Linked DNA regions of Homo sapiens: regions 2, 3, 4, 5, 6 and 7 are each linked to region 1. The links are contacts of gene promoters, found by promoter capture Hi-C in blood cells and fetal thymus (Javierre and others, 2016). All regions are on one chromosome and are shown on one strand. The core of a region is centred on a gene start or on the middle of the fragment in contact, and the rest is flanking DNA. Distances in the headings are between cores, read along the strand shown.

Region 1 (3,516 bases), core at 673-3,172:
CTCCCGAATAGCTGGGATTACAGGCACCCACCACGCCCAGCTAATTTTTGTATTTTTTAGTAGAGACGGGGATTCACCACGTTGGCCACGCTGGTCTGGAACTCCTATCCTCAAGTAATCCGCCCGCCTCGGCCTCCCAAAGTGCAGGCGTGAGCCACAGCGCCCAGCCTGATTCCATTCTATATGAAGTTCTCCAACAGGCAAAATGGTTATGGAGATCAAAATAAAGGTGGGGTCGGGAATCGACTGGGAAGAGACGTGATGAAACGTTTCTGGGACGATGAAAAGGGTCTGTGACTTGGTAGGCATCACGGAGCGGTTAGGGGCCAAAACTCATCTTCCTGTGCACTTGCTGTGTGCACTGGCGCTGTGTGTAAATGCCACCTCGATTTAGGAAAAAGATGACGTAAGTACGGCACAAAGTGGCCGGTACGCGGCAGGTGCATGGGAAGAAACTGCGGAATGAAACAACCGCGAGCTAAGAGATGGGGCAGCGGGAGAAATGAATTCGAGTTCCGCCTCCTACCAGGAAGAACCGGCTCGGGCCGGAGGGCTGCACGGAGGACCACACGGACGCCTGCGGGCCCGCCCCTTCCGCTTCACGACGTTCAGCCTGCGTCTGGAACTGGAATGGCCTAGCCCAAAGCTAGATAACAGGTAGATTGTTTTTCCGACAAATTATCAAACGACCCATCATTGCACTCTTTCAAAATTTGATTCTCAGACGTACCCATTCTTTTTTTTTTTCCTCCGGGAAGATGAGATATACTCATTCTTGAAAATACCTCCGGGCTTGCCTTCTGCACACTTCTTTCCCTCCCTGTCTCACGCCATGGTAGCGTCCGCCTAGGTTGCAGGCGACCCGCGGGGTGGGGCACACCATTCAAAGAAGGGGAGGGATTGAGGTTTGCATCAAAACAAATACCCCTGCCTTTGCAAAGGCCATAACTAAGTAATCCAGAAAAAGAAATGCAGGCGGAGAATAGCAGCCTCCCTCTGCCAAGTAAGAGGAACCGGCCTAAAGGACATTTTCTCTCTCTCTCCTCCCCTCTCATCGGGTGAATAGTGAGCTGCTCCGGCAAAAAGAAACCGGAAATGCTGCTGCAAGAGGCAGAAATGTAAATGTGGAGCCAAACAATAACAGGGCTGCCGGGCCTCTCAGATTGCGACGGTCCTCCTCGGCCTGGCGGGCAAACCCCTGGTTTAGCACTTCTCACTTCCACGACTGACAGCCTTCAATTGGATTTTCTCCATCTAGCGGAGCCGGGGGCTGCCTGGAAAGATCGCTCCAGGAAGGACAAAGGTCCGGAAGTTGTGGGACCTTAGCAGCTTGGGCTCCCCGGATCACCCCCAAATGATCATTTCGGAATGGAGCCCCAGTTTTCACTAGGATGCCATGGGCTCTAAAATATACAGCTATGAGTTCTCAATGTTTCGAGATCCAAAAGTCTCAGACCTCAATGCTTTGTGCATCTTTTATTTCAGGGATTCCCTACGCCCAGCACCGGGTGGATGTGCAAAGAAGTACGCTTTAGGCCGGCTCAAGGTTCCCCAAAGCTCCACTCCTCTGCCTAGGCGTTCAACTTTGAGTTCGGATGGTCCTAACATCCCCATCATCTACACCCAGGTCTCCCAACAATGCAACTCCTATGATGATCCCTCTAGCCAAGCTTCCATCCCACTCACCCCCAAACTCGCTAAGTCCCCACTGCCCCACCCCCAGCCCCAGCGATTTTCCCGAGCTGAAAATACACGGAGCCGAGAGCCCGTGACTCAGAGAGGACTCATCAAGTTCAGTCAGGAGCTTACCCAATCCAGGGAAGCGTGTCACCGTCGTGGAAAGCACGCTCCCAGCCCGAACGCAAAGTGTCCCCGGAGCCCAGCAGCTACCTGCTCCCTGGACGGTGGCTCTAGACTTTTGAGAAGCTCAAAACTTTTAGCGCCAGTCTTGAGCACATGGGAGGGGAAAACCCCAATCCCATCAACCCCTGCGAGGCTCCTGGCACAAAGCTGGACAGTCGCCATGACAAGTAAGGGCAAGTAATCCGCCTGCCGGAGGAAGCAAAGGAAATGGAGTTGGGGAGGAGGGTGCAGAGTCAGGATTCTCGCCGACCTGGTGCCGTAGATACTAACATTTTGGGGTGGAAAATTCTGCAAGCCAGAGCTGTGAGGGCAGAATTGGTGGAAATCATTTTGGAGGAATCCTGCATTGTGTCAAATATGAAGGGTGGAAGGAAGAAAGCTTTTGCGTTTGCTCTCAGCTGGATCCTTTCTTCTCATCAGTTAAAATGTCATTTTTTAGGAAGGCTTTCCGTAATATCACACCCTAACGTTTTCTCCCAGATACTTTATATCACACCATCTTATTTAATCTCCTTCACAACCCTTATCACTCTGATAAGATTTATTTGTTCATTGCTTTCAGTACATGGAAACGTAAGCCTTATGAGGATATAGAATTTTTCTACTATCTTATTCATTGTTGTATTCCTGAGTGCCTATATCAGTGCTGGGTAGCAAGTAAGAGCTCGATAATAAATATTTTTTGAATGAGGGAGACAGGTCTGAAGCCTGGAGAATGAGATGCAGAAGAGGTGCAAGACCTGCTGCGCCCTCTGCAGGCGGCGGGGGGGCGGTGCAGGTGCTTTAAGAATTACCGCGGGACTCGGTAGGGGGAGCGTAGGCGCTTCTCGCCAAGATAGAAGCGTTCAGACTACAACTCCCAGCAGCCACGAGGAGCCCTAGGGCTTGATGGGAACGGGAAACCTTCTAACCTTTCACGTCCCGGCTCCGCGGGTTCCGTGGGTCGCCCGCGAAATCTGATCCGGGATGCGGCGGCCCAATCGGAAGGTGGACCGAAATCCCGCGACAGCAAGAGGCCCGTAGCGACCCGCGGTGCTAAGGAACACAGTGCTTTCAAAAGAATTGGCGTCCGCTGTTCGCCTCTCCTCCCGGGAGTCTTCTGCCTACTCCCAGAAGAGGAGGGAAGCACAGGTGGGTTTCTTTAGCTCTGCGTCGGATCCCTGAGAACTTCGAAGCCATCCTGGCTGAGGCTAATCTCCGCTGTGCTTCCTCTGCAGTATGAAGACTTTGGAGACTCAACCGTTAGCTCCGGACTGCTGTCCTTCAGACCAGGACCCAGCTCCAGCCCATCCTTCTCCCCACGCTTCCCCGATGAATAAAAATGCGGACTCTGAACTGATGCCACCGCCTCCCGAAAGGGGGGATCCGCCCCGGTTGTCCCCAGATCCTGTGGCTGGCTCAGCTGTGTCCCAGGAGCTACGGGAGGGGGACCCAGTTTCTCTCTCCACTCCCCTGGAAACAGAGTTTGGTTCCCCTAGTGAGTTGAGTCCTCGAATCGAGGAGCAAGAACTTTCTGAAAATACAAGCCTTCCTGCAGAAGAAGCAAACGGGAGCCTTTCTGAAGAAGAAGCGAACGGGCCAGAGTTGGGGTCTGGAAAAGCCATGGAAGATACCTCTGGGGAACCCGCTGCAGAGGACGAGGGAGACACGTAA
Region 2 (3,516 bases), core at 384-2,883, 500 kb after region 1:
AGGGCCAGAGGGCAGAAGCAGAAGGCTCTCCATCAGCAGGGGTGCATCTTTGCCTGCGGGGTGTTTGGCCAAGGACGGCACAAGCTCCCACAGCCCCTGGCACCTGAGATGTGGCCACTGGAGTCAGGATAGCCACAGTGGGGGCTGGGGCTTCCTCTGTCCCTTTCTCCTGATTACATGTGGGAGTCACGTCCTCACCTTCAAGCAGACCTAAAGCCCCGTGTTCCCAGGGCTGGTGCTCTAGCTAGGGAGGAGAGTTGGGAAGAACAGGGTAGCTACAGATGGCCAACTGAATACAAGCAGAGCAACATCCCTTCCCACCAGGAGAGCCGTTAGAACTTCCCCACATACACCAGCCTAAGGCCCAGCGAGTGGGCACGGGCCAGCTGAACGCATCTGGAAGAGCCTCCAACACACAGGCCTCCCCTCAGTGGGCACTTCCCACCAGGACTCCCTGAAGAGTCCTTAGGGTCCTGCTGGGCCCTGCCCTGGCCAGGACCGGCCTCTCCTGTCCTCCTGGTCACTTGCACAGGGCCTCCAACACCTCCAGAGTACGTCGGATATCCCGGACTTGGCGCGCCAGCCCCTGAACCGGCTGCAGAGCCCGCTCCAGCTCCTCGCAGCGCGCCAGCAGGGTGTACATGCCCTTGATGCTCATGTCCACGGCTTCACCTAAGGAGTCCACAGCATCGCGGTAGGTCTGGATGCAACCCACGCTCAGCGCCGTCAGCTCCTGCACCGCGCCACCCAGACCGCGAAGCAGACGGTCCACCCGGCCTCCCAGCTCCCGACTCAACCGCTCCAGATCCCGCAGCACCTCGGGGTCGATTGGGGGAATGGCCGGTGTGGGTGTGGGTGCAGGCGCTGGGCAGGGCCGCGCAGGGGCAGAAGGCGGGGGTGGAGGCGCGCCGCTCAGACGGATCTTGAGTTGCAGGTTGTTGGCGACAAAGTGGGTAAGGTCGCCGTGGCGGCTCACTGTGCCTTCGAGCTCCAGGGGACTGGAGATGGTGGCGCGGCGTCCGCCGCCCGCGCCGGACTCGGCACTCCCTGAGGACCCGGCGCCACCGCACGCCTCGCTCAGCCCGTCCAGGCTGCGGCTGTCCTGAAGACGGCTGGAGAACGAGCGGCCGGCTCTGCTGCCCGCGGCCGCCTCCTCGTCGTTGTCTTCCTCCTCCTGCTGCTCAACATCCATCCCGCCGCCTGGTCCCCCTCGACGGCAGTCCCTCCCGGAGGAGGGCTTGCCCTCGGGCGGCGCCGGGTTCTTGTGCCGGGAGGACAGGGAAGGTTCGTGCTCTGCACCCGGCGCCCCCCTGCGGCTCCCGGCCCCAGACAGCGTCCCTTGAGGGCCGGGCTCGTTCTCCAGAGCCTCCCGTTCCGGCCGGTGGACGACGCCGCAGCTTGACGTCTTCGGGGACGTCCTGGGGTGGCGGTTCGCGCCCCCAACGTTCTCGGTCTCTTCCTCCCCGGACACCCGGAGGCCTGCGGGCGGCTCAGAGGACGTTCGGCCCGGCCCGCCGCCAAAGACTAGGGCCTGATGTTCCGCTACAGCCAGAAGGTCCGTCTCGGGCCCGGGCCGCCCCCGAGACGACTCCATACTGCAGGTGGGGGCCGCAACGGAGGAATTGGTTCGCCCCGGCTCCGGAGGCAGTGGCTGCGCCTTTAAGGGGCGTTGGTAGAGGCGAGCCGATTGGCAGCGGCTGACAATGGTAAGGACAGGAAAAGCATTTTGATTGGTCGCGGCGACCAGGAAGTCCCGGAAGAAGAGCTGTTACTGCACAGCGGAACACACGTGAACGCCGGCAGGGTGGAGAGAAGGAGGTGACAGCTGCTCCCGTCGCCCCGCCCTTTCTGAAAGCTGATGGGGCAGATCTTAAAGACCAAGGTCCTCAAATTCCTGAGTCCCGAGGGGTGGGGCTCAGATCCTTTCTGCCTGTAATTGTACCCCCCCCAACAGTGATTGCTTAGCAAAAATACCAAGTGGGGAGCCCACTTGGGGTTCCTAGAGAGGTTCTTAGGATGAAAATGGCATATCCTTCTTGGACCATCAGGGTTGAACCTAGTTGACTAAAAAGAAGGAAACCAGAAGTCCAGCATGAGCATGAATGGTTTGCTCTATCTTTCTTGGTTAAGAGACCTAACCACTGAACTGCTCAGAGCGACCCACTGTGGTCAAGGCAGCGGCCTCTGGGCTTTCCTATGCGTTTGTCACTCTTGTTCTGTGTCTCTTGCCCCTTTCACACTGAGGGGTCTCGCCCCTTGGAGGATGGCGTGTGATTTTGCCACGAGGTAAAATATTCAACAAATGAAATGATCACAAATTTTGATATGTGCTATACAGGAAATAAAGTGTTATGATTGAGAATATAACTGAGCAGGCACTAGTTTAGGTAAGGGGTCAGGAAAATACCTCTTTGGTGAGACTTTTAACTAAAAAGAACCAAAAAGACGCAGCCACCCCCCAGGCAGAGAGAAGAAAACTTGAGCTACCTCTCAGAGACAAAGAAGTCTTGACGTATTCAAGAAACTGAGGTGAGGGGGCAGGAGACATTGGGACTAAAACAAAATCAGCAAGATAAGGGGAAGGATTTCGAGCCAAGGAGCTGAACAGGCAGCAGGGGCCACGTCATGCAGGGGGCCTTGTAGTTCCTGTTAGGGAATGGAGATTTCCTCTAAATGCAATGGTGCAGCGACATTGGAAAGGTTGTACATTGCAACACATAGCCAAAGCTTGGAGACATCAGTATTTTTATTTATTTATTTATTTATTTATTTATTTATTTATTTATGTATTTAGAGACAGAGTCCCACTCCGTCACCCAGGCTGGAGTGCAGTGGCGCGATCTCGGCTCACTGCAACCTCCGCCTCCTGGGTTCACGCGATTCTCCTAACTCAGTCTCCCGGGTAGCTGGGATTACAAGCGCCCGCCACCACGCCCGGCTAATTTTGTATTTTTAGTAGAGATGGGGTTTCACCATGTTGGCCAGGCTGGTCTTGAACTACTGGCCTCAAGTGATCCACCCGCCTCGGCCTCCCAAAGTGCTAGCATGACAGGCGTGAGCCACCGTGCCCGGCCAGACATCAGTATTTAATAAAAACAGTTTGCTAACTCTCCTTAGCTGACAAAGGATGTGGTTGTTTTTTCCATTTGGATAGAGAGATGTCTTGAGGCAGTGTCATGCCAGCATTCAGAAGTGCAACTCCCCAGAACTTCCCAGCACTACTATCCCCAGGTGCCTGCCGGGGTCCTAGCCAGCCAACCCTAATGATAGTAGCTCAATCTTTCACCACGCCTGAGGAGTCCACAATTGTCAGCTGTCTGTATCTTATAGTCACCTGCAGCTTGACAAAACCTGTCATTCCTTTGCTCTAAAAAAAAAAACCTAAAAAGCTCATATATAATTGGGCTGGGTAGGTAGATATTCTTTAGAAGATGGGAGGACTTCCCTTGAGAATGGGAAGCTGAGCACAGGAAGAGAGTGATGTGATGGGATTCATGTTTAGGGATTACTGGCTGT
Region 3 (3,516 bases), core at 556-3,055, 480 kb before region 1:
GCCTGAGCCTTGACTCGAGAGGGAGCCCATAACGGAGGGTCCCATCAGCGTGGCTACCCTTTCAGCCTCTTAGCCAAGCCCACTCCGCCACCCTGAGAGCTGCTCAAGGGCCCAGCCTCAATCCACATCACACACACGCACACGCGTGCACATGCGCACGCGCACACACACGCACAGATGCACACGCGCAAGGATCTAACTCTGCCCAGCCCGGGGCCCCCTGCATGTGGAAGGAGGTGTAGGAGAAGCGGGAAGGGAGACAGCCAGACGGAGAGGGGAGCAGCAGATGGCAAAGAGTGGGGAGAGGGGGGTAGGCTTGGGGGAAGGGAGCTTCTCACCGGATGTAACACCACAGGGTGTTACATGCCTTATGTGCTACACATGGACACCCCAGGGATCATGTCCACCGGGTCCTGGTCCCCATTTCCTGCCCCATCCCCCCAACCCCCCATATCTACCCAGATATTTTCATAACCCTCCCCTAGACTTGCCCCTCACTTTCACAGACATTTGCCCTAAACCCTGCACCCCGGGAATCCGGGGTTCCCCAGCTGCAGGCCCCTCCCTCGGTCTCACCAACCAGCCGTCCAATCCACCCCTTCCTCTAAGGACCGTGTTGCCTAGCAACGGTATCTAGGACCAGTCAAGACCCGGGGAGACCCACCTCCAGGAGGCCCTGTCGTCAGGACAACAGGGGGGTGGGGCGTGGCCTGGGGCCGACCAAACTCCTGAGCGCAGAAGGGATCCGCTAGCCCCGCCTCTCCTGCCCTGGGCCCCGCCCCACGTTAGCCAGGCCGAGAGGAGGCCGGGCTGAAGAGGTTTGTGGGCGCAGCGCATCCTGAATAACCTGCCTTCCTCGCTCCCCTACGCCCCTCACCCTACGCAGTGCAAAGGACGTCAGGAACTGGGAGTGGTGAAAGACATCCGGGTCCTATCCCGCTCATCTACTCCCTCCCCCCACTTCATTCGGGAAAGGGTTAAAGTGGGGCGTGCCCAGGTCCCTGACGTCAATCGCCTGGTCTCTAGACTCCCAGGCGGGGCCCGCTTTAGCCCGGTCCTAGGGGCTTCCCCAATTGCCAGGGCAACCGAAGCCACGTCTCTATGGCAATGGGGGGAGGCCGCCAAGAGCCTCCTTCCGGGGTCCCCAACCTACTTCCTCCTTAAAGAAACATGTATTTGCAGTCGCCCAAGCGCAAGGATTCCCCAGTCTCCTTCCCGCTCTCCCCGTCCAAAGGGGTCCCTCCCCTCTCCTACTGCTATTTCTCAAGCCTACAAACTACCGACCATTTTCAAGCTGTATCACAGATTTCACACCCATAAATCTATTAACACCACCCTCCAACCCTTCACATATCAGCAAATGCTGTTGTCCAACCAACAGTCACTGACTGCCAAAATCTCATCCACGTGTTCATCCCCCATCCCACAGCCCGTCCCCCATCCCACAGCCCGTCCCCCATCCCGCAGCCCGTCCCCCATCCCGCAGCCCGTCCCCCATCCCGCAGCCCGTCCCCCATCCCGCAGCCCGTCCTCCATCCCATAGCCCGTCCTCCATCCCATAGCCCATCCTCAATCCCCATCCCCATCCCTATCCTGGAACCTCCTTCCCAGCACACCCACCTTCATCCACTACGACATTCATTTGCTTCCCATCCCTATCTCTGCCCGCATCCCACATGCTCCATCTCCATCCCTGTCTCGCCCTTCAACATCCATCTTCCAACCCCAGCCTCCATTCTCCATCCGCTTCCCTGGCCCTGTCGCACCCTCCAGCCCCATCCCTTACCAATGTGGCCTCATCCTCCATCCCAATTTCTTTTTTTCCAGAGACAAGGTCTCGCTGTGTCACCCAGGCTGGAGTGCAGTGGTGTGATCATAGCTCACTGCGGCCTTGAACTCCTGGGCTCAAGCAGTCCTCCCACCTCAGCCTCCTGAGTAGCTACAGGCACATGCCACCCCACCCAGCTACTCCATCTCAATTTCTGATTCCCCAGAGAGTTTATCACCATTCTCCCTTACCCTACCTTCATACCCTCAAGATTATTCTCAAGTAACAATCTTACACTTCTCAATCAACTCCCCTCTCTTCTGAAAATTGGGGCTTCTCCTGTTCCCCAGGTGAGGCCTTGTCCTGAGACCTCCACCCCATGCTTATGGCCTCCAACACTCTCTCCCTCCACCCCCTTCTGCTCCTGAGCTCTGATCAGCAGCAGCTCTGTACTAACTACCACCCCTCAGGCTCCCTACCTCCTCTTCCCCCTGCTCAGGGATTTAATGGCCCTGCCTTGCACAAAGCATCTCTAGTCTTCTTTCCCTCACTCCTAGCATCCACAGAATTCGCACAAACACTCTGTACCATCCCTGTCTCCAGGGCCTTCCTTTCCTTGCTCTGTCAGCCTCATTCACTGCCCTGATCTCACAGTCTTATCCCTATCTGGCCCCTGACCCAGGACCTCTTACCCTTCCTATCCCCCAACTCCTCTCTTGCCAGTTCTAACTCCAGAACCTGCTTGCCCGCTCCCTAGGCTCAGAGACCTCCTCCCCATCTTCTTGGTGAAATGTCAGCAACCTCCCCCTTCCCAGAGCATCCCACAACATCCTAGAATCCCCACCCTGACCCCACAGTGTCCCCTCAATCTCACAGCTTGCCTGGTGCTCTCCAGTCCTCCCCATCCTGTGTCCCCAGAAGAGGAGATGGAGGAAGGGGAAGATGGAAAGTGGACTGGAGAATGGAAGGTCCCAGAAACCAGGCCTCCCGGGACTGGAGAGAGGAGGACGCTGTGAGCAGAGAGGAGAAAGGGAAACAGGTGGTGGGGGATGATGGAGGGGGCAGAGGGGGATAGAAAGAAGATATGGCAGAGGTGAGAACCCAAGAGGATGAGAGAGGGGAGGAGGAAAAGAGGGAAGGTGAAGATGAATAGGCAAGAGGGAACATGGGAAAGGGGAGCTGGCTGATGGAGGGAGAGGACTGATGAGGGAAAGGACTGATCAGGCCCCAGCGGCCTGGGCTGGGGATCAGGGAGAGGGAGAGGAGAATGCGTGGGAGGAAGAGAGAGACAGCATCAAGAGCCAGCCAGCCAGCCAGCCAGCAGGGAGGAAAGGCTGCAGAGGGGGAAGAGAACTCAGGAGTGGAGCAAAGCTGGGGCAGGGGACGAGGCAGCAAGGCCCCACCATGTGAAGTCTCAGGCCAGACAGATGGAAAGAGCTGGAGACTTGGGGACAGGGCGAGCCAGGCCCAGAGGCGGAGGTAGGGGGAGGAGGCGGGGAAGGGACAAGAGCAAATGAGGGCAGCAGGCGCTTGGAACAGAGCTCTGGACACAGAAAATGGAAATGGAGGTTGGGGGTGTGAAGGAATGAAGAGGTCCCAGGCGTGGGGGCCTCTTGGGGGATGCACACACCTCAACACACACGCATACAGCACACGCACAGGCACACAAACGGCGCACGCACGCACACACACACACAGCACACACACAGGCACGCATGCATGCACACACGCACAGGCACACACACAGC
Region 4 (3,516 bases), core at 763-3,262, 480 kb after region 1:
GCAGTGTGTCAGGCCTGGCCCTGCTCCAATCCTCCCCACTCCCCAGCTGGCTGACACCCTCTCTTGGACTCAGTTTTTCCATCTACAAAGCAAGGGGCTAGACAGGTAGGTTCTGAGGTCCCTTCCGCTCCATGGTATGGCCTTGAAGCCACAGACCCTAATCCTCTGAGCCTCTGAGACCGCAAGCTCTCAAATAATGGGGTGGTTGGCTTCCTGGTCATGTCTCAAGCCCCTGGTCCTTTCCTTTCTCCCACTCCTCAATTCCAGGGTTCTCAGACTGGGCTCTTAGGCCTAAAGGGTCCTCAATGGATACACCAGCTTTCCTATTTCCAAATGTTAACAAGACTGCCAAGAACTAGGCAAAATGCAGGCTAAATAACATCAAAGTTTTTGGCTCTAGATGAATCAGAATTGCCATTAGCAGCTATATGTGTTTTTGGCTGAAGAGTAAAAACTAGATTAATGACCTTCAAAACCTAGAATCCACTGGGGAAACCTCTCCAGGGAAAGGGCCCCGGCCATTCTCACCCTACTCACCTATGATGATGATGAGGATGATGGCGCAAATCACTCCCAAGATGATCATCATCTGGGGGTGAGAGGCGAGGATCAGTAAGACAAACTATGATACCCCATTCACCCACCTGTCCTCCTTCCTGTCCCCACCCTTACCTTGAGGTTTTTCCACCAGTATTTGCGCTTGAGCTTGGCTGCGCTTGTTTCAAACTGGGAGGCCCCCGCCTGGAGTGCATCTGCACGGTCGTCCAGCTCCGACAGCTTCTGGTCTCGCTCCAGGACCTTGTCCACGTTCACCCTCATGATGTCCACCACCTGGGAGAAGGGCCCACGAGGCAGGGGGGTGTGCCAAGGCCCACCTCAGTGAGGGCAATCCTCAAACATGTGCCCACCGTGCCACACATGGAACATGCACCCTGATACTGCCAGGTTAACATGCCAAGGACACACAGAACATGCCTAGCACACCTGGGGACATGCAAGGAGCACACATCAGGGGCATGCTGGTGACATCTCAGATGTCATAGCAACACCCTCCCTCTATGGAACCTCAGGCGCTCTGTCCATCACCAGAGCACACCTGCCCAGGCTGGCACACCCCAGGCTAGCAAAGCTGATTAACACCCCCAGCGCCCTTCCAAGTGCGTGCTGACAGGGAGACAGGGATGGGGCATGGTATCTTTGTCCGCAAACCCACAGGCGTGAACTGTCATCACTCCCAAACCAACATGGGCCCCTACACCTATACGCCAACCCCCAGGGTCCCTCCTACTGCTTTTGACTCCCCCCACACTCACCTCATCCACCTGGGCCTGGGTCTGCTGCAGTCTCCTGTTACTGGTGAGGTTTGGAGGGGGTGCAGGGGGACCACCCTCCCCAGCCGGGGCAGCAGGGGGGGCCGTGGCAGCGGTAGCAGACCTGAGGAGCAGGGACGGATTAAGACCCAGGGCCTGCAGCCTCCCGGCCCCGCAGCCAGGGCTCCGCCCATCCACCTGTCCATCCTCGTCCCTCCAGTCCTCCTTTTCGGGAGGAAGGCCACCCGATGTAAGCCCTGGTCTCGGTCCAGCCCTGCCGCCGATGAGCTGCGTGACCTTGAGCGAGGCCCCCCCGGCCTCAGTTTCCCCGCCTGTCAACTGAGGGCGACCTCACAGATGCGATCCGGGTCGACCCGAAAAGACAGGCGGCCGCGGTGACAGGGGCGGGGAGGGGCAGGAGGACACTGGGTCCGCTCCTTCCCGCGGCCATCGCCCGAGCCGGCCAGCCCGGGACGCGGGGCTCCTCGGCCGCCCGCGCGCAGTCACCGGCTTGGGCCTGGCCCCGGGGCGCGGGGAACGCAGGAGAGACCCCGGGCACTCCCGACGGCCGGTTGCCAAGGGCGGCGGCCGGCGCAGGGAAGCGCGGTGAGGGTGGCGGGCGGCCGACTCACATGGCGGGGGCAGCGGGTGGAGGACTTGGCAGCGGCAGTGATGGCGGCGGCGGCTCGCGCTGGCTCCGACTGGCGCTGGCTGCCCGGGACGGAAAGATGGCGGCCGCGCGTCACCCGCATCCGGGCACTGCGGGCGGGGGCGGGGCGCCGCGGGAGACGCGTCGCGAGCGGGGCCGCGGGGGCGGGGCGCTGCGGGGCGCTGCGGGGCGGGGGTCGTGCCGGGCAGGACCACGGGCCCCGCGCCACCATGCCCCGGCAGCTCCCTCGGCACTCGCGGGACCCCAAGGCGGGCTGCTGCGGCTTCCCCAAACCCACCGCCACCCCACCCTGTCTGACCACAGCCCCCCCAAACCGCCTGCCGCCTGCCCCTTAGAGCACAACGCAGCCTGGCCCTACACCTAACCCCCAGACCACTCCCTCAATCGTGAACCCAGTAAACCAGCCTGCACCCCACACAGCCCAAGGTCTTGCCCCGCGCCCAGGTCCCAGCACCTAGCGACCCGCCTTCAGCACTTGGAATGGGCTGGAGTTGGGAAATCAGAGAGGGCCAGTGCAGGTGCTGGGGCAGTATCGAGAGCGGGGACCTTACTGCTAGGGTGGAGAGGAGTGGGGGAGATTGGTCCCAACCCATCACCGCTGGTGGATGTCTCAGAGGAAGCCTGGGGTCCCTGGCCACTGGGTAGGAGGGTAGGAAGAAAAGATGAGGCAGGCTCTTCCCGCCCAAACAAGTCCAGGGGGCGGAGGACGGGGGAGTGTCTACAGGGTGTGGGGAGGGGGCTGCCCCGCCTCACGATTAAGGTTCAGACTAGGGGTACTTAACCGCTGGAGCAGGCCCGACTGAGGTGGGGTGAGCTGAGGACCCCGAGGAGGAGGGCACAAGGCTGCCGGGGGTGATGGGGGCAGGGGCTGCTTCACGTGGTGGCTGCTGACTGGCCAAGACCTAGCTTTGCCCCAGGCTTAGGTCAGCGACCCGACTGCAGGAAAGGGCTCAGGCTTTGGTCCCAGGCACAGGGCCTGGGCCAAAAAAAAAAAAAAAGCCTTTTTTCTTTTTCTCTCATTTTTTTTTCTTTAGTAGTAGGCACAGTGGGCACAGGTTACAAGGTGCTGCTTTACATGCGTATTCGCCTCGCAGGTGTGACCTTGGACCGTTGCCCTCCTCTCTCTGGACCCCAAATACATTGCATATGTAGGTACTAAATCCATATTTGTTAAATGGCTTGATGTGGATAACATAGGAGATTATCCCTGGCTGGTCTCCATTAGGCCCTCTAAGCACACCCAGCAGCTGTATACACTCCCACCCAGCTTGTCAGAGAAGATGGGACCAGGGGAGCTGTCGCTCTGGTGGAGTGCAGGGGGTCAAAGCAAGCCTCAAGGGTGCAGGAGGCATTTTAGGCGAGGCCCTTTGGCCCTGGGGTGGGGGTGCTTACTACATCCCTGGAAGGTGCAGGGAGGCTGATGGCCTTGATCTCTAAGACAAACAGGAACCAGCTTCCTCCCTCCCCCACCCTGGCTTCCCAGGGCCTCCGGGTGTGAGATCCTCCCCCACTGCAGTGCCCCACCCGCTCCCCACA
Region 5 (3,516 bases), core at 326-2,825, 450 kb before region 1:
TAGCCGGGTGTGGTGGCGGACGCCTGTAGTCCCAGCTACTTGGGAGGCTGAGGCAGGAGAATGGCGTGGACCCGGGAGGCAGAGCTTGCAGTGAGCTGAGAATGCGCCACTGCACTCCAGCCTGGGCGACAGAGCGAGACTGTCTCAAAAAAAAAAAAAAAAAAAAGCAGAGGTTGAGGACCCAGAAGGCTCAGCCCCAAAGACCATAAACACAAAAGGGCTTTCTCTGCATTATTTACACGCCAATCTAGTCCAAGATAGCCCTGAATGTCCCAAATTACCCTAGGATAGCCCAATCTATTCTAGCACAGCCTACAATGCCCCCACACGCAGCTGTCTGCACCAGTCTAGATTGGAACATCCCAATACGGCTGCCTGTGCTAGCACAGGCCCCAACAGCCTTGTCTGCCCCTATACCGAGTGCTCCAATAAAACCAAGTCTTGCCCCAAGAGAAACCAGGATTAACCAATACAACCCAGTAGAGTCCATAATGGCCCAAGTGTTTTTTGTTTTTTTTCTGAGACGGAGTCTCGCACTGTCGCCCAGGCTGGAGTGCAGTGGCGCGATCTCGGCTCACTGCAACCTCCGCCTCCCAGGTTCAAGAGATTCTCCCTGCTTCAGCCACCCAAGTAGCTGGGACTACAGGCGCGTGCCCCCACGCCCGGCTAATTTTTTGTATTTTTAGTTAGTAGAGATGGGGTTTCACCGTGTTAGCCAGGATGGCCTCGATCTCCTGACCTCGTGATCCGCCCGCCTCAGCCTCCCAAAGTGCTGGGATTACAGGCGTTACAGGACTCCTGAGAACGTACTAAACAACCAGACAATGGATCAATTTACTCAGTACAGACTAGAATACTCCAACATAAACCAGTATGCCCCCACCTATTCCAGTAAAGCCTAATCTTGTCTAATCTGGTTTAGGATATCCTAGTCTGTCCGTGTGCCTCAATCTATCCAAGCATAACCTTGTCCATCCTGGGATAGTCAACCTACCTCAGCATAGTACAATCTGCTCCACCATAGGCCAGAAAATCCCAGTGTGGCCCAAAGTAGACGTGTGCCCCTCCATGTCGCCCAATCCACTCTAGCAAAGCCCCCGCCGGTCCTATCTAGGCCTTGCGCTCACCCGAAATCCTGATCCATAGACTTGAAAAAGTACTTGGCGCCCGCGGGCCGCTGCAGGACGCTCTTGAAATCGCCGAGGGTGATGCGCTCGGCGGGGACAGGGATCTTCACCAGGTAGGGAGTCTCTTCCTCATCCAGGTGGTAAATCACCTTCGTCTCCCCAACCCCACCGCCCCCAGTGCTGCTACCCGCCATGGTCTCGCCCGCGCGCTCCCGGGCTCCACCGCCCACCCAAAGGGCTAATGGCCCCTGCCGCGCCTGCGCACACCCGCAAACCGACGCGCGAGCGCGGACAGGACTGACCCAGTACGGGAGAGAAGCAAAGGGGAAAAAGCACGGATCTGCGAGGGTGGCGGCGGGGGGCGGGCCGCGGGGTGCGACTCAAAGCCCCGGTCTCAGCGGCCGCCGCGCGCCACCGCCACCGACGCCGCGAGCTTCCTCCAGGTACCCGCCCACCTCTCCTCATGTCACGTGACTTAAAGGCAGCCACCCCGCGCTCCTCAGCCGCCCTCCGTCACGTGATCCCCTCCCAATCACGTGACCGTCTGACTCCGCCTAGTGCCCCCGCCACATGATCGCTGCCTTCAGCAACGGTCTCCCAGCCCCCAAACGTGTACCCCAGCCGAGGTCCTCTGAGCACCCAGGCTAAGCTGGCCTGTGCCTTCAGGAAACGGACCATCGGCTCCCACCCCGCTTTACCCCACCCACGATGGAGCACGAAGCAACTCTGACCCGCAGGAGTGTGCGTGCAGGGAGTGAAGGTGGGGACTGTGGGGGTTCCTAGACTCGAGTGGGGAGGGCCAAATACAATGAAAGCTCTAAGGTGGCTTACTTGTCTTGGGGTGGGAAAGGCCCAGTGCTGTGATATCTTCAGATTGGACTTTGAGACGTGGGTTTCAGCCCCACCTCCAGCTAGTCTTCAGCCACCAAAGCCTCCCTCCCGAGCAGGACAGTGAGGGCTATAAACACAAAAGAGCCCACTCTGCTTTATTTACAACACGCAGGCTGTCTGTACAAACAGCGGCCGATATTATTAAAAACAAAAGAGGTGAGTGAGAATCGTCACCTTTCTGCTTTCCTTCCTCACTTGGCCAGGCTCTAGTACTCCACCTTTGAGCTGCCATGCCCAATAGGGGAAGTCCAAAATTAAAAATACAACCGGTGTAGAAGAAAATAAATGGGGAGTGAAATAGAAGAAAAGATGAGGGAGGGGAGTGCTAATATTTACACTAGAGTTTTATAGACAACTGTCCCATTCCATCCCAATTCCAATCCTGACCCAGAAAGTGATGGTGGCAGGTCCAAGAGACAGAGATTATGTGTCGGGACACAGACAGCCTCCCATCCCCAACCGTAATGGATTCAATTTCAAGTCCACAGAGTGGGGAGGAAGGATAGGGTGGGAAAGTGAGACACTCATTTTCAAACAAGTCTCCCTTGAGAATTCCTGCCTTGAAGTGCAGACAGTATCCAAGCTCCAGGGGATAGGCTGAGGACCCTGAGGCTCAGTTCCCAAATCATGTTGTCATTTGGAAGTTCCAGGCTAAAGTTGGTGCCATCAGGGCTCTCCAGATTTGGGAGGCCCCCCTAACCGCCGGGCCTCTGGCCTCAGTTCCTTGCATTTCTGGCAATAAAAGAAGTCGGGGACGTTGGTCTTCTTAATCTTAGCACAGGAGAGGTGGATCCACGTCCCACACAGGCTGCACTCAATCATGGGCCGCCCTGCAAAGGGCTTTCGACAGTAACATGTGATCAGATCCCATGAGTCATCACCTGGGGAAAAAAAGGTTTGTTTGGTATTCTGCCTGAGCTGTTGGATCCACAACACCCTCAAACCCCTCGCCCCAGCCCGAACCTCTCACCTGATTCTACCATGATGTCCTCGTCCATGACCCGCATCTCGCCTTCACTGGAGCTGGCATCTCCATCTTGGCTTGTTTCAGTGCTGCCCACCTCCTTGCTTTCACTGTCAGCAGGAGGGACTCCTTCAGGGTGCACTGTGGCAGGGGGCCTAGGAGCCTCAGGGGGTGTTGGCAGCACAGGGACTGGGGCTTCACCCCCTACCACTGTTGCCATCTCTTCTTCTTCTTCCTCTTCCTCCTCTTCCTCCTCCTCTTCAGAGTCTGTATCACTGGGGGGTGCCTGGGGAGGCCCAGGAGGTGGGAGTCTATCCCCCCGTTCTGCCTTTTTTAACTTCCGCTTCTTGCTCTTCTTGATTCGAGATCTCTTTTCCCCATCCCCAGGAGTTGGCCGAGGCCTCCGAAGCACCCCAAAGCCAGCCCCAGCTCCTGGCCCCAACTTTCGGTTCTTTCGGTCCTTCTTTCGAGGAGGATGGGAGAGGTCCCCCTGGGAAAGGGGCACGGGGGTAAGAGCAGCAGGGGGCCGGGAGG
Region 6 (3,516 bases), core at 348-2,847, 440 kb after region 1:
GACGGATGCGGGAGCTGGTGGTGCCCCCGATCGCATTTGCGCACTGCCCACAGAACGCGCGACCAAATGCGGAGTGGAGATGACCAAGGAAAGTCCTGGCCCACCCTGAGACGAAACTGTCCAATCCTAGGGGTTGGAACCAATGCCCAACGCGTGAGGAGGAGATTTGAAACCGCAACCCAGGGAATGAAATTAACCACCCGACATAACAGAGGCTGGCTCATCAGAGGCTGGCTGTGGGGGAGGGGGAACCGGACACTTAGAGACCCAAAGGGTGAAACTGACCGACCCCGGGAGCGAAATTTACAGAACCAGGCGTGAAACTTACAGACCCGAGGGGTGGCGAAGAAGATCGCGTTCTGAGAGCGAGTGGGGGTCTGGGATGGAATTCCAAAGGCGGGACTCGGGTGAGGATGCCTTGGGGCCAGGGTTGCCAACCAAGCTTGTGTCCCCACCCCAGTGGGAAGCCCTGGGACGCGGAAACGGGAAGCTTGGGGACCTAGGGCTAGCGGAGGGACTGACCTGGTCCCGGGTCCGCTCCAGCAGCAGCAGCCTCAGCTCTTCCAGGCTGCGGTTGATGCGGTCCCGGCGCCGCTTCTCCACAAGCGGCTTGAGCATCTGCGACCAGCGAGAAAAGGAGAGCGGGCCGACCAGACCGAGACTCAGTGCGGCCGCCCCGGCGTCGGATCCCGCCGCTGGGAGAGCCCGGCTTCCACCCCGGCCACAAGACCCCAGATTGCCTAGGGCCGGCCCCATTCGATCCCTCTCCGCTCCCCCTCCCAATGCCCCTAGATCAGTTTCTGTAGCTCGCCTCCCCGGATCTTCGCATTCTCCTCTCTCAGTCTCGTCCTCCCTCCTCCCCTCTCTGTGTCTCTCCTCCTCTTTTCTCTCTACGTCTCCGTCTGGTGCAGTTTCTCTTTGTCTCAGTGGAGAACTTTGGGGACTCTCTGCGCGCACGCACGTGCGCCGCACGGTGCCGGGCTCAGACCTGGCGGCCCTGAGTATAGAAAGGGAGATACCTAGCGCGACCGCGCCGCCTCTTTTCCCTCAAAACCCTCCAGGCCTTCACCTTCTCCACGGTTCTCCTAAAATCTTCCACCAGTCTGGGGCCTCTGGAACCAACGCCCCGGGACCTTCTGTACAAGACCGCCTTGGGCCAGCCCCGCCCGGCTCACAGCCAGAGTGGAGCAAGTGCCTATCCTCTTCTCTTTTCGTTCCCACCCTCCTCCCTTGGCTCTGCCCTCTAATTGCTTATTTTACTCCAACACCGGCCCCCTCCCCAGGCCACAAGGTGCCGACACCCATTACCGAGGCCCCTAGTCCTATGTTCCCGCCGCCCACTCAGGTCTGGCTCTGACCCCTGTCCCCTTCTTCATATTTTGCAGCTTCCTCTCCAGCTTCTGGCTCCTGGAGTTCTGGAGCACCGCTCCCCTTCCACCCCTGCGTCCCCAGCCTCTCTCCAGACCGACGGCGTCAGGGGCCCAGTCCCCTAGCCAAACCAGGGACCTCTGCTCCCTCCCCTCCCGCCTCTCACCTTGGGGCCGTCCCTATTCTCAGCTCGATCCCGGGTGACCATTGCTCCTCCGGACCCTGTGTGGACCGGTTCCCTGCTCGCCTGGAGCCTTATATTCCGCGGCCCAAGGGTAGGAGGGATAGGACCCGACCCCGCCCCCTTCGACATCCAGATTCTGCCCCTCTAGGACCCGGCACGAGGCTCCCGGAAAGAGGAGGAGTGAAGGGGGGAGGGGAAGGAGAGAAACTGGCCTGGGAGTGCGGGAAGTGAGGGGTGAATGGGGGCACTGGCTGGTTTACAGACCGTAAGGCTGTATAAGGAGGCGGGACCCAGCTGAAAGGAGGAGGCTATTGGGGCAGAGCTCGCTTGGGGATGAAATTCAGAGTTCCTCCAGAATTGCAGCTTTCTGGGAGGCTTACTGTACCCTCACTAACCCTGAAATAGAAGTTAGCACCTCTCAGCCCCCAGGCTGAATTTTATACATCATCTCCGAAGTTCGCTTCCTAGTCGAGACAGGGAGCAACCCGAGTGCGCTGGGTGAATCTGTCCGACTCAACCGAAGCTCTGCCGGGAGGTTGGAGAGGCGCTCTCTTCTATCTAAGCCAGTTACATTCAAGTCCGCGAACATCTGCGCGCCCACTCTGCGGACAGGGCACTTGTCTAGGCTCGGGCGAGTCATAGTGAGATACGCAGGAGAGACCCAGCTTATCCCTGCAGGATCTAATGGAAAAGACCATGTGACACCAAGTAGCTATTACAGAAGCCCAGTGAAGTAGGTGCTCCGGGAAAAGGTCTCCTTAAGGATGGCTGGACTGAGGAGGATCTTCAAGGCAGAGGGAGCAAGTCTTTGAAACATAGGTATGAGTGGAGAGGTCTTTCCACTTACAGTACAAGTATTTGATTCAAAACTAGTCATAGGAGATTCAGGAGTGTGGCTGATAGGACACCTCACGCAAGTGTGCCCGCATTGCTTGCTTCTGGAGGCCCCTGGTGACTGTAGGGTAGCAGGGAGCAGGCAGTTTACTAAGGGGAAAGCAAGGGGTACAAAAAAGGGATCAACACCCACCTCAAACCAAGAGCATGACCCTCCGCAGAACGATGCCTGACCACTCGAGGGCTTCAGGACAAAGTGTCTGAGAAGATAAATCAGAAACTGAAGGGAACAGCCAGGTTGCCAGGGATAAAGACACGGAAAGACAGGGTTGCAGACCGAGACGGAAGACAGCTGTGAAATCAGAGACCAATGGGGTTTCCTTCAAGCCCTCCCAACGGCCCTCCGCACCTTGGTTTTGTCACGAAGCCTTTCTTGCCATCATAGCCCGAGCCGGGAGAGGCACAGACCTTGAGGAGGGGGCTCCCATTTGGGATCAGGGCCCCCAGCACATCCCACCTCTCCGTCCTTCAGCCAAATGGGAACGCAAATGTGTGTCCCCATCAGCCCCCGCCGCCCCCCTCCTTGGGAACCTGGGCTCGGGCTGAATTTTTCTCACCTGCACGCGAGGCTGGGGGCCCCCGGCTGTTCGCACCCGGGTGTGGGGCCGCCCCTGGCCATATGGGGCGGCTTTATGGCCCGGTGGCCGGATCCGGACGAGAGGAAGGATGACTTGGCGCTCCACCCACGGCAACCATTCGGGACCACTTCCCTGGCCTACACCGTTGCCTGTCCGGGTCCGCCTCAACCTCTTACAATCTCAGATAGGATCCCCGCAGAATCTTTAAGCCGCGCATTGGTGGTTCAGTGGTAGAATTCTCGCCTGCCACGCGGGAGGCCCGGGTTCGATTCCCGGCCAATGCACGAGTACAGTTTTCTTTTCTCCCCTCCAAAAAAAGGATAATATATTTGGTAGCATTTCTAAGAAACATCTTCACTTAAATATTTCTACCAAATATTAATCTTAACCTTTTGACTATAGCAGAGTTTGCAGCCCCAGGCCTAAACGATTCCGCACGCCCTCGCACTCCCCTCCTCCCAGCATGGGGGTCCTGCAGCCTCCACACCCCCC
Region 7 (3,516 bases), core at 1,017-3,516, 440 kb before region 1:
AGGGAAGGGAGGACAAAAGGCTATGGGGTCAGTGCTGCCCAAAGGAGAGCAATTTTGGAAGTAACCTGTGGATGAGCTGAAGCACCACTCCGTATGCCCAGAAAACTGATGTGTTGGAGCGAGAACGTCAGAGAAGATGGCAGTCAACCCATAAAGAAAACCGCTGGAGGCCGGGTGCAGTGGCTCAATCCCAGTACTTTTGTGAGGCCAAGGCGGGCAGATCACTTGAGGTCAGGAGTTTGAGACCATCCTGGCCAACATGGTGAAAACCCGTTTCTACTAAAATTACAAAAATTAGCCAGGTGTGGTGGCAGGTGCCTGTAATCCCAGCTATTCGAGAGGCTGAAGCAGGAGAATCGCTTGAACCCAGGAAGTGGAGGTTGCAGTGAGCGGAGATGGCACCACTGCACTCCAGCCTGGGCGACAAAGCGAGACTGTCTCAGAAAAGAAAAGAAAACCCCAGGAGATAGCCCCACACATATCCCAGCATCTCTGACCCTAAATTTTTCTTGGCTCCTAGCTCTTGTCTCGGGGGAATAGCGCTGCTGCCTACAGCCACAACCATCCTGTACTGTTCGCGCCCTAAATCAGGAAGTGGAAGCAGACTGGTAAAGGACAGAATGAACCCAAGGCCAGACCCATTCTCCCAAATCAGTTAAATCAACCACCACTACCACTGAGGGCTTTCTGGAAATTCTCTGGACCCCAGGTCACCCCAACCTGGGTTTATTCTTTCAAATTGTATTGAGGTATGCTAAGGGGTACAGACCACAGTACAGACCCAGAACCTGTGTCTCCGCTTACTAAATTCTCCCCAGACTCCTTCCGAGGATTCTCCCTGGTGGTGGTGAGACCACAAGAGCACATTCATTTAAAGTGCTGTTAGCTGAAGGACCTCTGACCTTGGAGAAAAGCTAAGGGAGAGGGGACCCAGAGATGCTTGGGTCCATCCGGACAGTTTCCCTCAGAATGCTAGGCTCTCCTGGAGAAGCAAACGTCCTCATTTTCAAGCCCTACAACTGCCCAGCGCTGTCCTCTGACAGGGACACCCAAACTTCAATGGTGGGCACAGCACCCACCTTGAACTCCCTCCCACAATTAAAGAGGCCCATCGTAAAAGCATCTGCTTTAGTCTTCAATAAATCCAGATACCTACACTCACACTATGAAATAAATTTTCACAGCCTTTTTGGAGGAATTCTCTTAATGGGAACCGCAGGCGTTTCTCCTTCACACCCAGGGCTTTCCCAAGTTCCCGTCCTTGTTTGTAACGTATGCCCTCCCACCCACCTCCACCCTTGACACACAAGTCTGTCTCTTCCTTGTTATAGGACCAAACACACACCGAGGTTCCAAATAGGGTCTTTCCCAAGCCCACATCCACAGATCCGGCTGTCATCAAACAGGTGTTCCCCGCCTCTTGGTTTCTTTAGCAACAACTCCAGCTTTCTTAAAGAGCGCCCCACCCACCACCTTAGCCCCCAAGAGTTGCCAAATCCTGTCCCATCTAGCCCCATCAAAACCCCCAAGGGCAAGGTTCTATTACAAGGGTCTCCCACCTCGCCCCGCTTAGGGTGCCCAATTCTCTGGCGAGAAAAGCCCCAGCCAGGATTCCCTTCCTAGGCCCAAACAGAGGCCCGACACTCCGAAAACCCCTGAGCACCACGGACAGATGTCCCCAACACCGCCAGACGTCCCCAACACCGCCAGCGCCCACCCTGGCTCACCGTGCGGATCTGCCTCCGCAGAAGGTAAATGAAGAAGCTCCAGAGCTTGGCGGCGAAGGCCACGAACGTGCGCAGCCCCAGCAGACACTGCGTCCGCATCATCCCGATGACCCCGGCACCGCCGGCCCCGGGGCCCCCGCGGCCCAGCTCCGCCAGCCCCCCGGGGGCAGCCCCCCGCCGCCGGGAGGGGGAACGGGGGCCCCGAGTGGCAGGAGAGGCTGCAGAGAGGGGCACGGAGCGGGCGGCTCAGAAAGCCACCCCTGGCGAGGGTAAAGCCCAGCGGAACGGGGAGCTGGGGGACAGGCGTGGGCAGCCCGCGGGGGCCCACATGGGCTGGGAGTGGCACCGACGGCTTCGGGGAGGTTGCGGGCCGAGACAGGTAGGGCTAGGATGGGGTCCTCCGAGACCTGGAGGGAAGGGGAAGGATAATTGGGGGAGGGGGCAGTGGGGGAGGGGGCTAGGGAAAAGGGAGGAAGGGAAAAGGGAAGGGGAGGGGGGGAAAGCAGAGAGTGGCCCGCTGCGCAGGCGCGCTAGGGGGCTGCTCGCAGGAACGGGGAGGGCGGGGGCAGCGGCGCGCAAAGGGCCGCGGCAGCGGAGAACGGGCCTGCAGAGCGAAGGAGCAGGGAAGGAGGGGGAGGGGGAGCCGGAGGGCGCAGAGCGCTGGGCCGGAGCGGCCTCCCCCTCCCCGAGCTCGGGGGTCCTTTAGCCGCTGGGGACCGGGGCTGCAGCCTCTGCAGCTGGGTTTCCCACTCTGACAGGCGCCATTTTACCGTCCAAAGGACTCCCTCTTCCTGTCTTTCCCCCTCCTCTTCCCCTTTGACACTACTTCCGGTGGTGACGTGTATTCGCTTCACCGGGACTAAGTTCCTCCTGCGCGGTCTATGGCGGGTAGGTATAAGGAAAGCCAAAAGCACTCCAAGCGAGGCTGCAGTATTGCGCACGCGCAGAAGGTGGCCGCGGGGCGGGGCCTGAGGCGAAGCAGGCCCCGCCTCAAACTGCGTGGGCGGGGAGAGTGACGTCACTTGGCCCGCGCTTAGGGCCCTCGCGGGGGGCTTGTGGGTCCTCCTCCCCCTCCCACTGACAACTGCCCCAACTGCTCTTCCCGCCCCGGTCACAGTGAAAATGTAGACGGGGTCGTTGTCCGTACGACTGTGCGCCAGGGCTCGGGGAGGGGCGCCCTCCGCGTGAGCGCCCCCCTGGGAATATTGAACATAATCACCTCTCATTCCAGACTATGTTAGGTCTTAATGGTGGGAGGACGCCCGAGTGCTCGGCCCGTTTCACCCCGAGGAGGAAGGACACTGGGTCATGACGCCATCAGAGGGCGCCAGAGCAGGGACCGGACGCGAGTTGGAGATGTTGGACTCGCTGTTGGCCTTGGGCGGCCTGGTGCTGCTTCGGGGTGAGAGCCAGAGGCACGGTGGCGGGGCGGGGGGTGCGGTTCGGGCCTGGCTGAGGGGACGGAAGTGGGCAGGAAGGGCCAGGGGTCACAGGCTAGGTGTGGAAATCGCGACGGGTTCGCGAAGGCGGTAATCCCAGCGCTCTCATACCCTTTATCCGTCCCTCGCTCTGCAGATTCCGTGGAGTGGGAGGGGCGCAGTCTCTTGAAGGCGCTTGTCAAGAAATCTGCACTGTGGTGAGTATCCCACAGTGTCTCCCCGGCCTACCCTGGATAGGGCACCTGTGCCCACTCTTTGACAATCCCTTCTCATCTCTGCCTTAGTGGGGAGCAAGTGCATATCCTGGGCTGTGAAGTGAGCGAGGAAGAGTTTCGTGAAGGTTTTGACTC

Evidence for each region. Contacts are between HindIII fragments. The CHiCAGO score rates a contact against its expected background, and 5 or more counts as called.
Region 2: a contact is called between the fragment with the promoter of BORCS6 here and the fragment with the promoter of TP53 in region 1, in 1 of 17 cell types (fetal thymus). The highest score is 6.6, in fetal thymus.
Region 3: a fragment that was not itself captured here is called in contact with the fragment with the promoter of TP53 in region 1 in 2 of 17 cell types (fetal thymus and non-activated CD4 T cells); the score reaches 5.9 in fetal thymus.
Region 4: a contact is called between the fragment with the promoter of VAMP2 here and the fragment with the promoter of TP53 in region 1, in 3 of 17 cell types (fetal thymus, naive CD4 T cells and non-activated CD4 T cells). The highest score is 10.3, in fetal thymus.
Region 5: a contact is called between the fragment with the promoter of DVL2 here and the fragment with the promoter of TP53 in region 1, in 4 of 17 cell types (fetal thymus, non-activated CD4 T cells, activated CD4 T cells and 1 more). The highest score is 9.4, in fetal thymus.
Region 6: the fragment with the promoter of HES7 here is called in contact with the fragment with the promoter of TP53 in region 1 in 1 of 17 cell types (naive CD4 T cells); the score reaches 6.6 in naive CD4 T cells.
Region 7: a contact is called between the fragment with the promoter of CTDNEP1 here and the fragment with the promoter of TP53 in region 1, in 5 of 17 cell types (fetal thymus, total CD4 T cells, activated CD4 T cells and 2 more). The highest score is 7.6, in fetal thymus.

Annotation. Positions count from the first base shown.
Region 1 is chr17:7,685,568-7,689,083 of GRCh38, forward strand. It overlaps TP53 (tumor protein p53), which reads right to left and starts at 1,923. Exons shown (of 11, transcript NM_000546.6): 1 at 1,810-1,923. WRAP53 (WD repeat containing antisense to TP53) reads left to right here and starts at 2,910. Exons shown (of 11, transcript NM_001143992.2): 1 at 2,910-2,994; 2 at 3,081-3,512. The coding sequence starts at 3,082. RefSeq lists a silencer at 284-343 and enhancers at 644-773, 793-1,340, 804-853, 814-2,013, 2,812-2,861. The HindIII fragment of the contact is 572 bases long and covers 1,669-2,240 here.
Region 2 is chr17:8,188,547-8,192,062 of GRCh38, forward strand. It overlaps BORCS6 (BLOC-1 related complex subunit 6), which reads right to left and starts at 1,634. Exons shown (of 1, transcript NM_017622.3): 1 at 1-1,634. The coding sequence starts at 1,594. The coding sequence ends at 521. LOC124903913 (a long non-coding RNA gene) reads right to left here. Exons shown (of 2, transcript XR_007065604.1): 2 at 2,729-3,516. RefSeq lists enhancers at 801-1,447, 1,426-1,705, 1,448-2,093 and silencers at 886-935, 1,006-1,065, 1,266-1,315. The HindIII fragment of the contact is 3,696 bases long and covers 1-2,725 here.
Region 3 is chr17:7,204,282-7,207,797 of GRCh38, forward strand. The region is part of intron 2 of DLG4 (discs large MAGUK scaffold protein 4); the gene reads right to left. Among named protein-coding and RNA genes, the nearest start is that of DLG4, 12 kb to the right of the region's middle. RefSeq lists an enhancer at 889-938. The HindIII fragment of the contact is 8,126 bases long and covers 1-3,516 here.
Region 4 is chr17:8,160,936-8,164,451 of GRCh38, forward strand. It overlaps VAMP2 (vesicle associated membrane protein 2), which reads right to left and starts at 2,013. Exons shown (of 5, transcript NM_014232.3): 1 at 1,943-2,013; 2 at 1,314-1,434; 3 at 673-831; 4 at 538-589. The coding sequence starts at 1,944. RefSeq lists an enhancer at 1,181-1,230 and silencers at 1,341-1,450, 1,741-1,930, 2,091-2,190, 2,321-2,380. The HindIII fragment of the contact is 9,788 bases long and covers 1-3,516 here.
Region 5 is chr17:7,232,942-7,236,457 of GRCh38, forward strand. DVL2 (dishevelled segment polarity protein 2) reads right to left here and starts at 1,576. Exons shown (of 15, transcript NM_004422.3): 1 at 1,128-1,576. The coding sequence starts at 1,321. PHF23 (PHD finger protein 23) reads right to left here. Exons shown (of 5, transcript NM_024297.3): 4 at 2,989-3,516; 5 at 2,097-2,899. The coding sequence ends at 2,685. RefSeq lists a silencer at 1,314-1,613 and an enhancer at 1,724-1,773. The HindIII fragment of the contact is 14,867 bases long and covers 1-3,516 here.
Region 6 is chr17:8,122,509-8,126,024 of GRCh38, forward strand. It overlaps HES7 (hes family bHLH transcription factor 7), which reads right to left and starts at 1,598. Exons shown (of 4, transcript NM_001165967.2): 1 at 1,535-1,598; 2 at 523-618. The coding sequence starts at 1,576. It overlaps TRG-GCC2-6 (tRNA-Gly (anticodon GCC) 2-6), which reads left to right and starts at 3,238; the gene lies at 3,238-3,308. RefSeq lists enhancers at 1,456-1,976, 3,253-3,516 and silencers at 3,117-3,166, 3,277-3,326. The HindIII fragment of the contact is 4,110 bases long and covers 489-3,516 here.
Region 7 is chr17:7,249,468-7,252,983 of GRCh38, forward strand. It overlaps CTDNEP1 (CTD nuclear envelope phosphatase 1), which reads right to left and starts at 2,267. Exons shown (of 8, transcript NM_001143775.2): 1 at 1,728-2,267. The coding sequence starts at 1,829. ELP5 (elongator acetyltransferase complex subunit 5) reads left to right here and starts at 2,748. Exons shown (of 8, transcript NM_203414.3): 1 at 2,748-3,129; 2 at 3,303-3,363; 3 at 3,451-3,516. The coding sequence starts at 3,084. RefSeq lists enhancers at 1,870-2,457, 2,458-3,046, 2,915-3,134 and silencers at 1,995-2,114, 2,185-2,394, 3,165-3,404. The HindIII fragment of the contact is 9,547 bases long and covers 1-3,516 here.